Regions from separate parts of the Homo sapiens genome. Here region 2 is linked to region 1. The links are contacts of gene promoters, found by promoter capture Hi-C in human tissues and cell types (Jung and others, 2019). All regions are on one chromosome and are shown on one strand. Each heading gives the region's core, a stretch centred on a gene start or on the middle of the fragment in contact. The rest is flanking DNA. Distances are from core to core; before and after follow the strand shown.

Region 1 (6,016 bases), core at 1,575-4,074:
ATGGAACCTACCAAAGATGAAGTTGTCAGGCCGGAAAAGCTGCCCAAAAGGCCCAGACCGCACGCTGTCCATGGTGCCTGGCTCTAAGTCCACCAGGGCGGCCCTGGGCACATATTTCTGAGCTGGAGGAGAAAAGAACCACCCACAAGAGTTACTTTCAGGTTTCTAAAGTAATTGACTTCCCCGTTTCAAGTCCCACCAGTTCTAGCTGCCTGGAATGGATCAACCAGGGTCTTTTCAGAAAGGGTACAGGAACTTTCTTAGAATCACAGAATTGGCTGGGCGCACTGGCTCATCCCTGTAATCTCAGCACATTGGGAGGCTGAGGTGGGCAGATCGCTTGAGCCCAGGAGTTCAAGACCAGCCTGGGCAACAGAGCAAAACCCTGTTTCTAAAAACAAACAAACAAAAAACCAAGAAAATTAGCTAAGTGTGGTAGTGTGCACCTCTAGTCCTAGCTACTCTGGAAGCTGAGGTGGCAGGATCATCTGAACCCAGGAGGTCAAGACTGCAGTGAGCCATGGTTATGCCACTGTACTCCAGAGTGAGACCTTGTCTTTTTTTTTTTTTTTTTGCGATGGAGTCTCGCTCTGTTGCCCAGGCTGGAATGCAGTGGTGTGATCTCGGCTCACTGCAAGCTCCGCCTCCTGGGTTCATGCCATTCTCCTGCCTCAGCCTCCCAAGTAGCTGGGACCACAGGTGCCCACCACCACGCCCGGCTAATTTTTTTTGTATTTTCAGTAGAGATGGGGTTTCACCGTGTTAGCCAGGATGGTCTCGATCTCCTGACCTTGTGATCTGCCCACCTCGGCCTCCCAAAGTGCTGGGATTACAGGGGTGAGCCACCGTGCCTGGCCGAAACCCTGTCTCTTAAAAAAAAGAAAGAAAAAAAATCCTAGAACCTTAACACTGGAATGAGGAACGAGTCCAGGCATGACCTGGCAGAGGAGGTTCCAGGAAGAGGCAGGATGAGAAATCAAGTCCCCTGACTTCCTGCCTACTGTATTTTCCAGCTCACCCTGACACCTCTTTCCTGTTAGGAAGTTTTACAACTTTAGCTCCATGGAAATAAACTAGGTATTTACAGCAAATTGCCAGGTTTGGATGAAATTCTCTGCTTTGTGACACCTCCCCCATGCATACACATACATGTGCCCATGTGCAGTCTGAGAACCTTGTTACCCGGAGCACGCCACTGGCTGTTTCCCCAGAGTCACTCTCATTTTGAGTCAGAGTGTTCTTGTGTGGAAATTTCATGCCAATTGGGCTAGAACTTGTTCCCGGTGAGGACACGGTTAATATGATTCCAGATAGGACCTGCTCTTCAACTCCTGTCCTGCAGTGCACTCGCCAAGATCGAAAATGGATGTACCCAAGCTGGGTGAGGGATTAACATGAAGTGCAGTGTATACTGGAACTATCCTTAGTGTCCTCTAGAAATTTCATCTTCCATGCCCTGATGTTCCCAGCCTTTTGTCATTGCTGCGTAAATGAATAAAACTCCACTCGTTGCTGAGAACTGCCTGGAGTTTCAGCTTCCAGGGAGGTTAAAGTCTTTTTAGAGGTCTGCAAGGGACCAGAAAAGTCACTTAAGAGAGCGTTTCTCAAATTTTTAGCCAAGAATCCCCAATAAGAGATACGTTTTAAACTGGGGGGGGGGGGGGGGAAGCTTTGTTTTTCCCAAGGATCCTTGAGAAACGCTCTAATTTATTCTAACAGGGTCTCGCTCTGTCACCCAGGCTGGAGTGCAGTGGCGCGATCACAGCTCACTGCAGCCTCGACCTCCTGAGCTCAAGCCCTCAGTTAACTGGTACTACAGGGGTGGGCCACCAAGCCCGGCTAATTTTAAAATTGTTGTAGAGATCGGGGCGGGAGGGGGGCGGGGGGTGGTCTCCTATGCTGCCCAGGCTGGTCCTGAACTCCTGGCCCCAAATGATCCTCCAGTCTCGGCCTCCCAAAGCGCTGGGATTAGAGGCTTGAGCCACCGCGCCCGGCTAGACAGAGAAGGCTGGGCAGGAACCGCTACGTTGATTTCACAACGCTAACGGGTGGTCCCGTTCAAGCGCTCAGACCCTCAGGATAGGCTGAATCGAGCTGTTTGAATAAACTGACGGCGGATTTCCCGCCCCGGAGGAGCGAAGGGAGTGGCCGGGCATCCTGCTACACCCCGAGAGAACTTTTCCCGAAGCAAACTCGCCGCGCTAAGAGGCGGCGCCGGAGCGTCCACGCGGGTCCCGGCCGGGCAGGGCGCGGCGGCCTTGCTACTCACACGATGACTCATTGTAGTAGACGTTGATTCTCTCCAGCTGCAGCGCCGAGTCTCCCACGTAGCCTCCGGCCGGGTCGATGCCGTGCTCATCGCTGATCACTTCCCAAAACTTGGGCAGGGCAAGGCGGGGGGACAGACGCTCAGAACCCAGAGCCCGGGACGCCGCCACCCGCGCCCACCCCAGGCGCCCCGGCGGCCGAATTCCAGGCGCGCCTGAGCCGCCGGCAGCCGCTCCCAGTTGGGATGGGGGTGGGGAGCGAAGAGTAGAAGGTCCCCGGCCGGCCACGCCCCGGGCGCTCCCTCCCTGCGGCCCTCGCGGGTCCGCACCGGGCTCCGAGGACCCAGGGGCGCACAGCGGGTGCGCGCCCCGGCGGGGGTCGCGCCGGGAGACCCGGGGCCCGCCAGCAGCCGACCCGCGGAGAGGCCCTGCACCGCGCCAGGCCCACCTTGGTGCCGATCTGGTTCCCGCACTGGCCCGCCTGGATGTGCACGATCTCCCTCATGGCGGGCGCGGCTCTGCGCTAGGAACTGGCTCTGCGGACGACAGCGGCAACTGCGGGCCGGCTGCGCGCGTCCCGGGGCCGACCCTCCGCGCCCCCGCCCCCGCCCCGCCGCTCGCCAATGGCTGCGGGCCCCGCCCCGCCGCCCCCGCTCGACGCCGCGGCCCGGCCTGCAGCAGCCGAGGGAGGACGCGCGGGCGCCAGTCGGGGGACCCTTGCCGGGAGCCGGGCGGAAAAGGACGGGCCCGGAGCTGGCGGGGAGGAGACGGGAAGGAGCGCGGCGCCCGCCCCCACCACCGTTTCGCTGCCCCTTGTGGTGCCCCGCCAGAGGGAGACGCGAGTCGGGCCCTGGCGTCGGGGCAGCGGAGCCGACGTGGCCCGCGGGGTCCCAGCGCCGCGCCCGGGAGCATTGCAGCCGCCCGCGCCCAGTCCAGCCAAGCCGGGACACTGCCCTGGGGTTCGGCGGTGGAGCTTTTCAGGGTCTCTGCCCCCTGCCCCCCACCCCCCGGTCGCACCCCGGGCACACGTTCTTAGGGCCTCTTCGTCCTGGTGTTTCCGTCTCCGGAGATACAGAGGCCATTCCTCTCCGACGACTCCCACCCCTTTGGAACCGGGTTTAGCTAAAGTGACTACAGGGCTGGATCCGAAAATGAACACCTCCTGCGCCGGGTCTATGCAGCCTACTCCTCGCGCGTTAGCGAAGAAATGCGCTTCGGCCTGGGAGGGCGCGCCAGAGTCCGTCTTCCTGGCCAGTTTTGTGTGGTGGAAAGGAATGACTGCTGATGCCGGCCGGGTGACTTGGATTTTAATTCTAGCTGTTTTCAGTTAGCTCTGCGCTTCAGCGGACTCCTCTGTTAACGGAAAAGGTTATCCTAGGGGAGCCTTTCAGCCTCCAAAATGCGGGATGCTCTGGCCTCTGCAGTCAGAATGTGCATGCATCAGGGCTTTTGCGGAAGTTTCCTCACGTGAACGCTGCAGGCTGGGACCACCGGGGTAGCCTCTGCGTCCCCTCCCAGGCCCGTAGAAACGCCGCACATGAGGAAGCGACGATGTTCTGTAATTTGCACTGGCACTTTCTTTTTAGACAGATGAAAACTTTGGGAAATTCCTAATTGTGTGTGTGCATGTTTGTACGTTTGGAAGGGAGTGGAGAACTTTTAAAAGTTTTTCTTCTGGAGTTTTGCAAATGTTTCCAAATTGAGGAATTTTTTTTTTTAACCCTTGGGTCCCCGCCTCCCCACTGCTCTCTCCACCCCAGTGCTGCTCCTCGGCCTTCTTGTGGGTCCCCACACCTCTTTACACAGCCACACGCCCAGGGAGCAGATGAGGAGGCCACAGCCCAGCCCCTGCGCTCCCATTTCAAACTATGAGCCTGAGATTAATCAGCCACCTTCTCCTGAGTCCTCAACACCCTTATTTAGGCTGTTTGTTTCCATTGCTTAATTATTGACTCCAACGAGTGCTACCTTAACCCATCCTGCCGGCCCGAAGTCTAGTGTGGGGAGCCCGAGAGCGGAGGGCCTGTGCCATCCCTGGAAGAACCCTTCCTCCAGCTTTAGTCTCTCTCTCTAAGAAATCCAGCCATCAAGTGGTTTAAAAGAAAGTGTCTACTTTAGAAGCTTTGGTCGTTTGCTGAAATAGCCACCCTTTCAGTGCTAGCCCTTGGGCTGGAATTTAAGTCCAGGGGTCTGATCGAGCCAGAAAGTAGGTGTCAGCGTGGCTTCCGGAAGTCCGTTGTCACTTGGATTTGACAAGGGACAAGCCGACCTGCTGGTTTCTGGGCTCCTGCTCGCTGTGCGCTCTGCGCTGTCTGCAGGGATTGGTGCCCGCGGAGTGCGCTTTGTCTGGAGAAACTCAGTGCTCGAAGAGTGAGGAGACCGGGAGGAAACCTTCCCCCTGCAAAGCTTATCTCCCTTCCCTCTCATCAGAGGCGGGGCCCCGCAAGACACAAGGGATTTCCCCGCAGAATGAACCAAGGCCTCCCCAGGACATGGGGACAGTTCTGCTGTGCAAAGCCTGAATTCACGTTTCTTTCCTAAAGTGGCTCCCAGTCTCTCTGCAGCCTTGGCCTCTCTTTGAATCCCAACCCTGACTTCCCTGGTGTCTGTTGGCCACTCCCTTCTGGGAGCCGGCAGGTGAAACCCTGACCTGTGAGCCCGGCCTGGGGCTCTCCAGGCTCTGGGCCCCCTACCCTCCCGATCTGTGGCCCTCACTCCTCCTGGGCGAGGCTGTTTGTGACGCGGTGTGTCCAAATGCACACAAGCCGCAAACCAAACTTAAAAAAGCGTAGAGGACACATTCTCTTCTCCTACCTTAAAAAATACACCATGGTATCTGGAAAGCCAGGTTCCAGTTTAGAATTCTCAGGCTAGGCCGGGCACAGTGGTTCACGCCTGTAATCCCAAAACTTCCAAAGCTGACATGGCAGGATTGCTTGAGCCCAGGACCTCGAGACCAGCCTGGGCATTATAGTGAGACCCTTGTCTCTACAAAAAGTTAAAAAATTAGCCAGGCATGGTGGTACATGCCTGTACCCAGCTACTCCAGAGTCTGAGGTGGGAGGATTGATTGCTTGAACCTGGGAGGTGGAGGTTGCTGTGAGCTGTGATCATGTCACTGCACTCCAGCCAGGGTGACAGAGTGAGACCGCGTCTCAATAAAAATAAAATAAAATAAAATAAAAAAGAAATCGGTAGACTTCTTGGGCTCCTCGTTGATTTGCATCAGGGCGTGGAAGTGCGGGGGCTGGTCTCAGCCTGCAGTCCTCACTTTCAACACCCGCCTTTCTCCCCACCTCCAATTCTGTCCCACGCCGAGATGGGTCTCCAGTACATGCCTGTGGACACTTCAGTCCTCAGCCACTCACAGCCATCCCAGGCCACCCTGCGGGAAGAAGGGGCCCTAGGAGTAGGTTTGGGGAGGTCTGGGCAGGGACTCCTGAGGTCCGGGGGGCTGAGGTGCCATCTAGGAGCTGTGGGCTCATCCCAGTGGCCCTGTAGGGAGGGGGCAGGCAAGGACAAGGCCCCTCACCTGGGTCGAAGGCAGTGATGGCGTTCATGACTTGGTGCTCTGGGCGAGCCACATTACCCGTGCACTCCTGTCTGCTCACTTTCCTCCTCCTCTTGCCCGTCTCTTCTGTGCCTTAGATCACAGTCTTGCTTCTCTGAACGCCTCCTTCTGTTTCATGCATGTGTAGAGAGGATTCCGGGCTCACTGCCCAGATTTGAATGCTGGTGTTTACACACAC
Region 2 (6,016 bases), core at 1,343-3,842, 590 kb before region 1:
GAATGTTTCAGTGAATTGTGTGTTCGTTTAGGTGTTGCAAGTCACAGCATCAGAGAAGCCCCAGAGCGGAAAGTGAAAGGTGCTCAGAGATGATCATTCATATGGCTATGAACTAATTAAGATTCAGGGATTTGAATGTGTCTCCTCATAACAAGAATATACAATATACTTCATGTAAATTTTTCTAGTCAAAGAAATGTTAATTAAAACTGTCTGGACTCTGTTTCACCTGGGAGAAAGTATGTTTTTGCAACAATATCAATTCTTTTGTGTTTTTTATTAACATAATAGTATTTCATTTCAGAAGCAGCCTGATATGCACATAAGCATAAAATAGTAAGAAGTGGGAAGTAGTTGTGGATAAAAAGGAACCAGGCCAAGCACGGTGGCTCATGCCTTTAATTCCAGCACTCCAGGAGGCCAAGTTGGGAGGGTTCATAGGGATGTGGGCAAACATATAGTTCTAAATCGCTGCCTATAGCATTACATTGATTCTATTCTTTCATACAGCAATTTAACAGTGGATTTCAAAAGCTATAAAAATATCTGGCTGGGCACAGTGGCTCACACCTGTAATCCCAGCACTGTGGGAGGTCAAGGCAGGTGGATGACTTGAGTCCAGGAGTTCAAGAACAGCCTGGGCAACACGGCAAGATCCCCTCTCTACAAAAAATACAAAAATTAACTGGGCATGGTGGCACACGCCTGTGGTTCCAGCTACTCAGGGGGCTGAGGTGGGAGGATTGCTTGAGCCTAAGAGGTAGAGGTTTCAGTGAGCTGAGATTGTACCACTGCACTCCGCAGAGGTGACAGAGCAAGACCCTGTCTCAAAAAAAAAAAAAAAAAAAATAGCAGCAGGTGCTTTAAGCACCTTTCCCACATACCTTCAGCATGTACTTCTACATCCAGAGGCTATTTTCTGCTTTAATTTTTTTTTTCTGGCCATGGAAACAAGCTCAGCTTACATACAGGGCAAAGTAGGAGTGGCAGAGAGCTAAGTAGCTCTAGAAACAGTCTTCAAACCATGACAGGTGGGGAGTTAGTGGTTAAAACTGAGTTTCCTTGCCCTTTGGTCTGGAAACTTTGACAGTATGTTCTTTACTGCCCCCCACCCCCCAGAGTTTCCCAGCAGGCTGGAAGTCCTCTTGTTGCCCACAGTGCTAACTGGTTGTTAATAAACACGCTTTCTTCTTTTCCCTGTTTCCCTTCCCTTCTCCCTTACTAGTGTTTCCCGGCATCACCTCCCATGTAAGACTCCATCTCAAATCTCAAATGGACTCAAATCTCCATCTCAGGGTTTGCTTCTAGACAAATCCAAATGGAGATAACTAATAAACTTTTGGACCAATAATTACACTTCTGGGTATTTATCCAAAGGAAAAGTCCTTCAAAAGAAGAGAGGTGGGCCGGGCGCGGTGGCTCACGCCTGTAATCCCAGCACTTTCAGAGGATGAGGCGGGCGGATCACCTGAGGTCGGGAGTTCGAGACCAGCCTGACCAACATGGAGAAACCCCGTCTCTACTAAAAATACAAAGTTAGCCGGATGTGGTGGCGCATGCCTGTAACCCCAGCTACTCAGGAGACAGAAGCAGGAGAATCGTTTGAACCTGGGAGACTAGGGTTGTGGTGAGCCGAGATCGCACCATTGCACTCCAGCCTGGGCAACAAGAGCGAAACTCCATCAAAAAAAAAAAAAAAAAAAAGGGACGAGTTATGTCTGAAAAAGATATTACAACATTTTTATGTAATAGGAAATTTGGAAACAATAGAACGTCCAACAAAGATTCACTGTTATTCTTGCAATCACATTGACTTTTCTTTTCTTTTCTTTTTTTTTGAGACGGAGCCTTGCTCTGTCACCCAGGCTGGAGTGCAGTGGCGCGATCTCGGCTCACTGCAAGCTCCGCCTCCTGGGTTCACGCCATTCTCCTGCCTCAGCCTCCCGAGTAGCTGGGAATACAGGTGCCCACCACCACGCCCAGCTAATTTTTTGTATTTTTAGTAGAGGCGGGATTTCACTACGTTAGCCAGGATGGTCTCAATCTCCTGACCTCGGGATCCGCCCACCTCGGCCTCCCAAAGTGCTGGGATTACAGGCGTGAGCCACCGTGCCCGGCCACATTGACTTTTCATCTACTATAATCAGGCACCATACTGGTACCCAATGGTGGTACCCAAGGTCGAGCATCAGGATAGAGCAGGAGACAGGAAGAGGATGAAATCTTTATTAAGGCAGCAGCAGGGGGAGACAGAGAGCAGAGCATTGATTTGAGAGATTTCTTGGGAGGCAAGAAGCAACAGAAACCAGCGACCCATTAGACACAGAAGATAAAGGATAGAGAGATGTTGAAGATGACTTCCAGGTTTGTAGCTTGGTTGAATAAGTGATGCCATTAGCTGTGATAGGGAAAACAGGGAAAGAAGACAGTTTTATAGACAAGGTTTTTTTGTGTTTTTTTTTGAGATGGAGTTTCGCTCTTGTTGCCCAGGCTGAAGTACAGTGGCACAATCTCGGCTCACTGCGACCTCCGCCTCCCAGGTTCAAGCGATTCTCCTGCCTCAACCTCCCGGGTAGCTGGGATTACAGGGGCGTACCACCAAGCCCGGCTAATTTTTGTATTTTTAGTAGGATGGGATTTCATTATGTTAGCCAGGCTGGTCTCGAACTCCTGACCTCAGGTTATCCACTCGCCTCGGCCTCCCAAAGTGCCGGGACTACAGGCGTGAGCCACCACGCCTGGCCTATAGACAAGGTCTTGAATTCAGATGTGATAAGCTGAGCTGGAGAAGCTTTAATTGCTTCAACACTGTTTCACTTCTATGAGCCCTCATACTAGTTGAATATGAGCCAGGGCCCCTGGACTCCTTGGGGTCATTTGTCACAGCAGCAGTAGGAAAGGAATACAGTGTGTGTTCCTGCCAAAGCCATGGGCCTGCTGTGGCTGTGCTCCTTCACAGAAAGCCACATTGCCCATCTGATAGCCCTCTCCTGCCCTCTCTCTGGGTTTTGGTAACTGCTCCTGTCCCCTGCACCTTCAGACCCATGGATTGGTAGAATTTCCACACAGTTGTTAACCCTGAGTGTTTAGCCCTGAGTGTTTAGATTTCTTCTAATCTTGTCCACAACTCTGTAAATCATTCTGTCCTTAAACTCTCTTTAATTACCTTTCTTAGTGTGCCAACGGTTTCACAACTGTACATCCTCTGGGACACTGATGGATGCAGACTCAAAATTATCAAAATAAATAAAAAGCTCTAGATTTCAAGAATTAAGGAGACTTGAGAACCATCTAACACATACAAAGGAATATGGTTCTAACAAAGTACTCAAGAACTAATCATTTTAGGGACTGGCATGGTGGCGCATACCTGTAATCCCAATGCTTTGGGAGGCCAAGGCAGGAGGATCACTTGAAGCCAGGAATTTGAGACTGGCCTGGGCAACATAGTGAGACTCCATCTCTACAAAAGAAATTTAAAAATTAGCCGGGCGTGGTACATGCCTGTAGTCCCAGCTCTGGAGGCTGAGATGGGAGGCTCTCTTGAGCCCAAGAGTTGGAGTCTGCAGTAAGCTATGATCGCACCATTGTACCCCAGCCTGGGAGACAGAATGAGATCCTGTCTCTAAAACAACAACAAAAGACACATGAATCATTTTTAGAATACTGATCAAAGTCACCTAGTTTTCATCTTCCTTTATCCATTATTTATTCTTTCTTCCAAGACTAATCAAGGCAAAATTGTGATATTTATCTTAACAACGTGGTAAAGTATATATCTGTCACTCTCTGGTAACTTCTCTTCCAACAGATTTTTATGCCACCCTTTGTCCTCTGGAATGGTTCAATGCAGCTTGATTTGCTAGGACTGTACTTCTATTGTAGAACCCCAAACTCAGACCTGTGTACCCCATGAGCAGCTGGGGCCAAACACTGAGACACTGGTGCTTGGAGATAGAGAAAGGTTTATTCAATTTGACCAAGGCAAGAGGGCAGGAGGGCAAGATCTCTCAAATCTGTCTTAACAAAAAGGTGAAGCAGGGAGTTTTTGTGCAGCTAGACAAAAGGGAGGGGGAGTTTCAGGGAACCGATGGGAAAGTCTGTGTTTCTTCAGTCTCAGATAGTGCCTTGAACAACCAGACTTCTGGGCATCAACAGCCGGTCATGACATCCTTAACAGCATCCATTCCCTCTGCAAAAATGTTTTGTGACCTTGAAGTTATCTTCTCCTCTTGGTGAAGAAACAGCACATCAGCAGTTTATCATTATATTGAGGGAGCAAGGGATATTGGCAGAAAGCGGGCAGTTAACATGTGCAAGCAGGCAAGGGCCTGATCAGAATGTTCATGGTTTCAGCCACTAAAAATGCGGGGTGCTGAAATCTCAAAGGGCCCGGTTACACTCCTCACTCCCCCAGTCAACATTCATTCACCCCGCAGGTGTAAGACCTATAGCTGCTTCCAGTTCCTGCCACTCTGGTGGGGTGAGGTATTATCTCATTATAGGAGTAACTGGCATTCTCTAGTGACTAATGAGGGTAAGGTTCATATGCTTACTGGCCATTTGGATATCCTCTTCACAAAATGCCTACTCAAAAATCTCTTGCCCGTTTTCCTATTAAGCTATCTTTCTCATACTGACTTGTAGGCGTTCTTTATTTTGGGCCTGAGTCTTTTGGGGAAGTATTCACTGCAAAACGTCTACTCTGCAGTTCACCCTTTTCCTTAATGCTGTCATTTGATGAACAGAAATCCTTAATTTTAAGGTACTTCCATTCAAAAGTTTTTTCATTGAGAAGCTTAAGGATTTTTTTTCATTGAGAAGCTGAGGGATGAAACTCTAAGGAGTCCCAGATCTTCTTAGAGAAGGCGTGCCTCTAGCCCGCTGCATGGAGAGCCCTCCCTGTGGGGGTGCATTTGTGGAACTAGCTGGAAACCTTGTACAGCTGGCTGCCATATCAAATGACCATGGACTTGGTGGCTTAAGACAACACCATTTATCCTCACTTAGTTCTAGAGGCCAGAAGTCCAAAACCAAGGTGTCTGCAGGGCTCTGCTCCCTTGGAAGGGTTCAGGGAGGAGCCTTCATTGCCTCTTCCAGCTTCTGGGTGCTCCAGGTGTTCCCCGTAGCTGAGTGACTAACCTCTGCCTCCATCTTCATATGGCCCTTTCCTGTCTCAAATCTCTCCCTGCCCTTCTCCTAGAAGGACAGTTGTCATTGGATTTAGGGCTCACCCTGATAATCCAAGATGATCTGATCTTAGGATTTGTAGCTCAATCTGCAAATACCCTTTTTTCATAGAAGGTCACATTCACAGGTTCCAGGCAGACACATTTTTGAGAGGCCCCCATTCAATCTACTCTATTGCCCTCTGGGTGTATGGGAAAGTTGCTCACGGGGAGATGTCTCACGGGAGGTACTCTGCTACAGACGCACCCCCAGGAGCAAGGTGCTGGGGGAGGCTGCTGGTCACTGGAGTCAGCCCAGCAAGCACAGTTCCCCTGTGCGGTTCCCAGCAAGCCCTTTCTCCTTAAGTGTCTCTCCACTCCCCCTACTGACAAAGCTTAACACTGTGTCAGCTGGCAAAGGAAAAATATTTAAAGGGCCCAGATCCATTCTCATAGAGAAGGTGAAAAAGGAAGCCTTGAGCTTAATGTCAATAAATTGATAACTGACATATTTAGGGACTATGATAGTTCATTGGAAGGCCTACCACATATTCTGTGTAGTTGGGTTAGGTAGTTATTTTTGGAAGTTTTTTTTTTTTTTGAGACAGAGTCTCACTCTGTCACCCAGGGTGGAGTGCAACAGGCGCCGTCTTGGTTCACTGCAACCTCTGCCTCCCAGGCTCAAGCAATTGTCTTGCCTAGCCTCCTGAGTAGCTGAGATTACAGGCATGTGCCACCACACCCAGCTTTTTTTTTGAGACGGAATCTTACTGTGTTGCCCAGGCTGGAGTGCAGTGGCGCAATCTTGGCTCACGGCAACCTCTGCCTCTCAGGTTTGAGCGATTCTC

Evidence for each region. Contacts are between HindIII fragments. The study calls those that stand out against the background at their distance.
Region 2: a contact is called between a fragment that was not itself captured here and the fragment with the promoter of TUBB6 in region 1, in 2 of the 25 tissues and cell types used here (aorta and bladder).

The regions. Positions count from the first base shown.
Region 1 is chr18:12,305,049-12,311,064 of GRCh38, reverse strand. It overlaps TUBB6 (tubulin beta 6 class V), which reads right to left and starts at 2,824. Exons shown (of 4, transcript NM_032525.3): 1 at 2,716-2,824; 2 at 2,270-2,378; 3 at 12-122. The coding sequence starts at 2,772. RefSeq lists silencers at 2,289-2,638, 2,659-2,758, 2,849-3,338. The HindIII fragment of the contact is 9,027 bases long and covers 1-6,016 here.
Region 2 is chr18:12,890,217-12,896,232 of GRCh38, reverse strand. No RefSeq gene overlaps it. Among named protein-coding and RNA genes, the nearest start is that of PTPN2, 9.0 kb to the right of the region's middle. The HindIII fragment of the contact is 5,179 bases long and covers 3-5,181 here.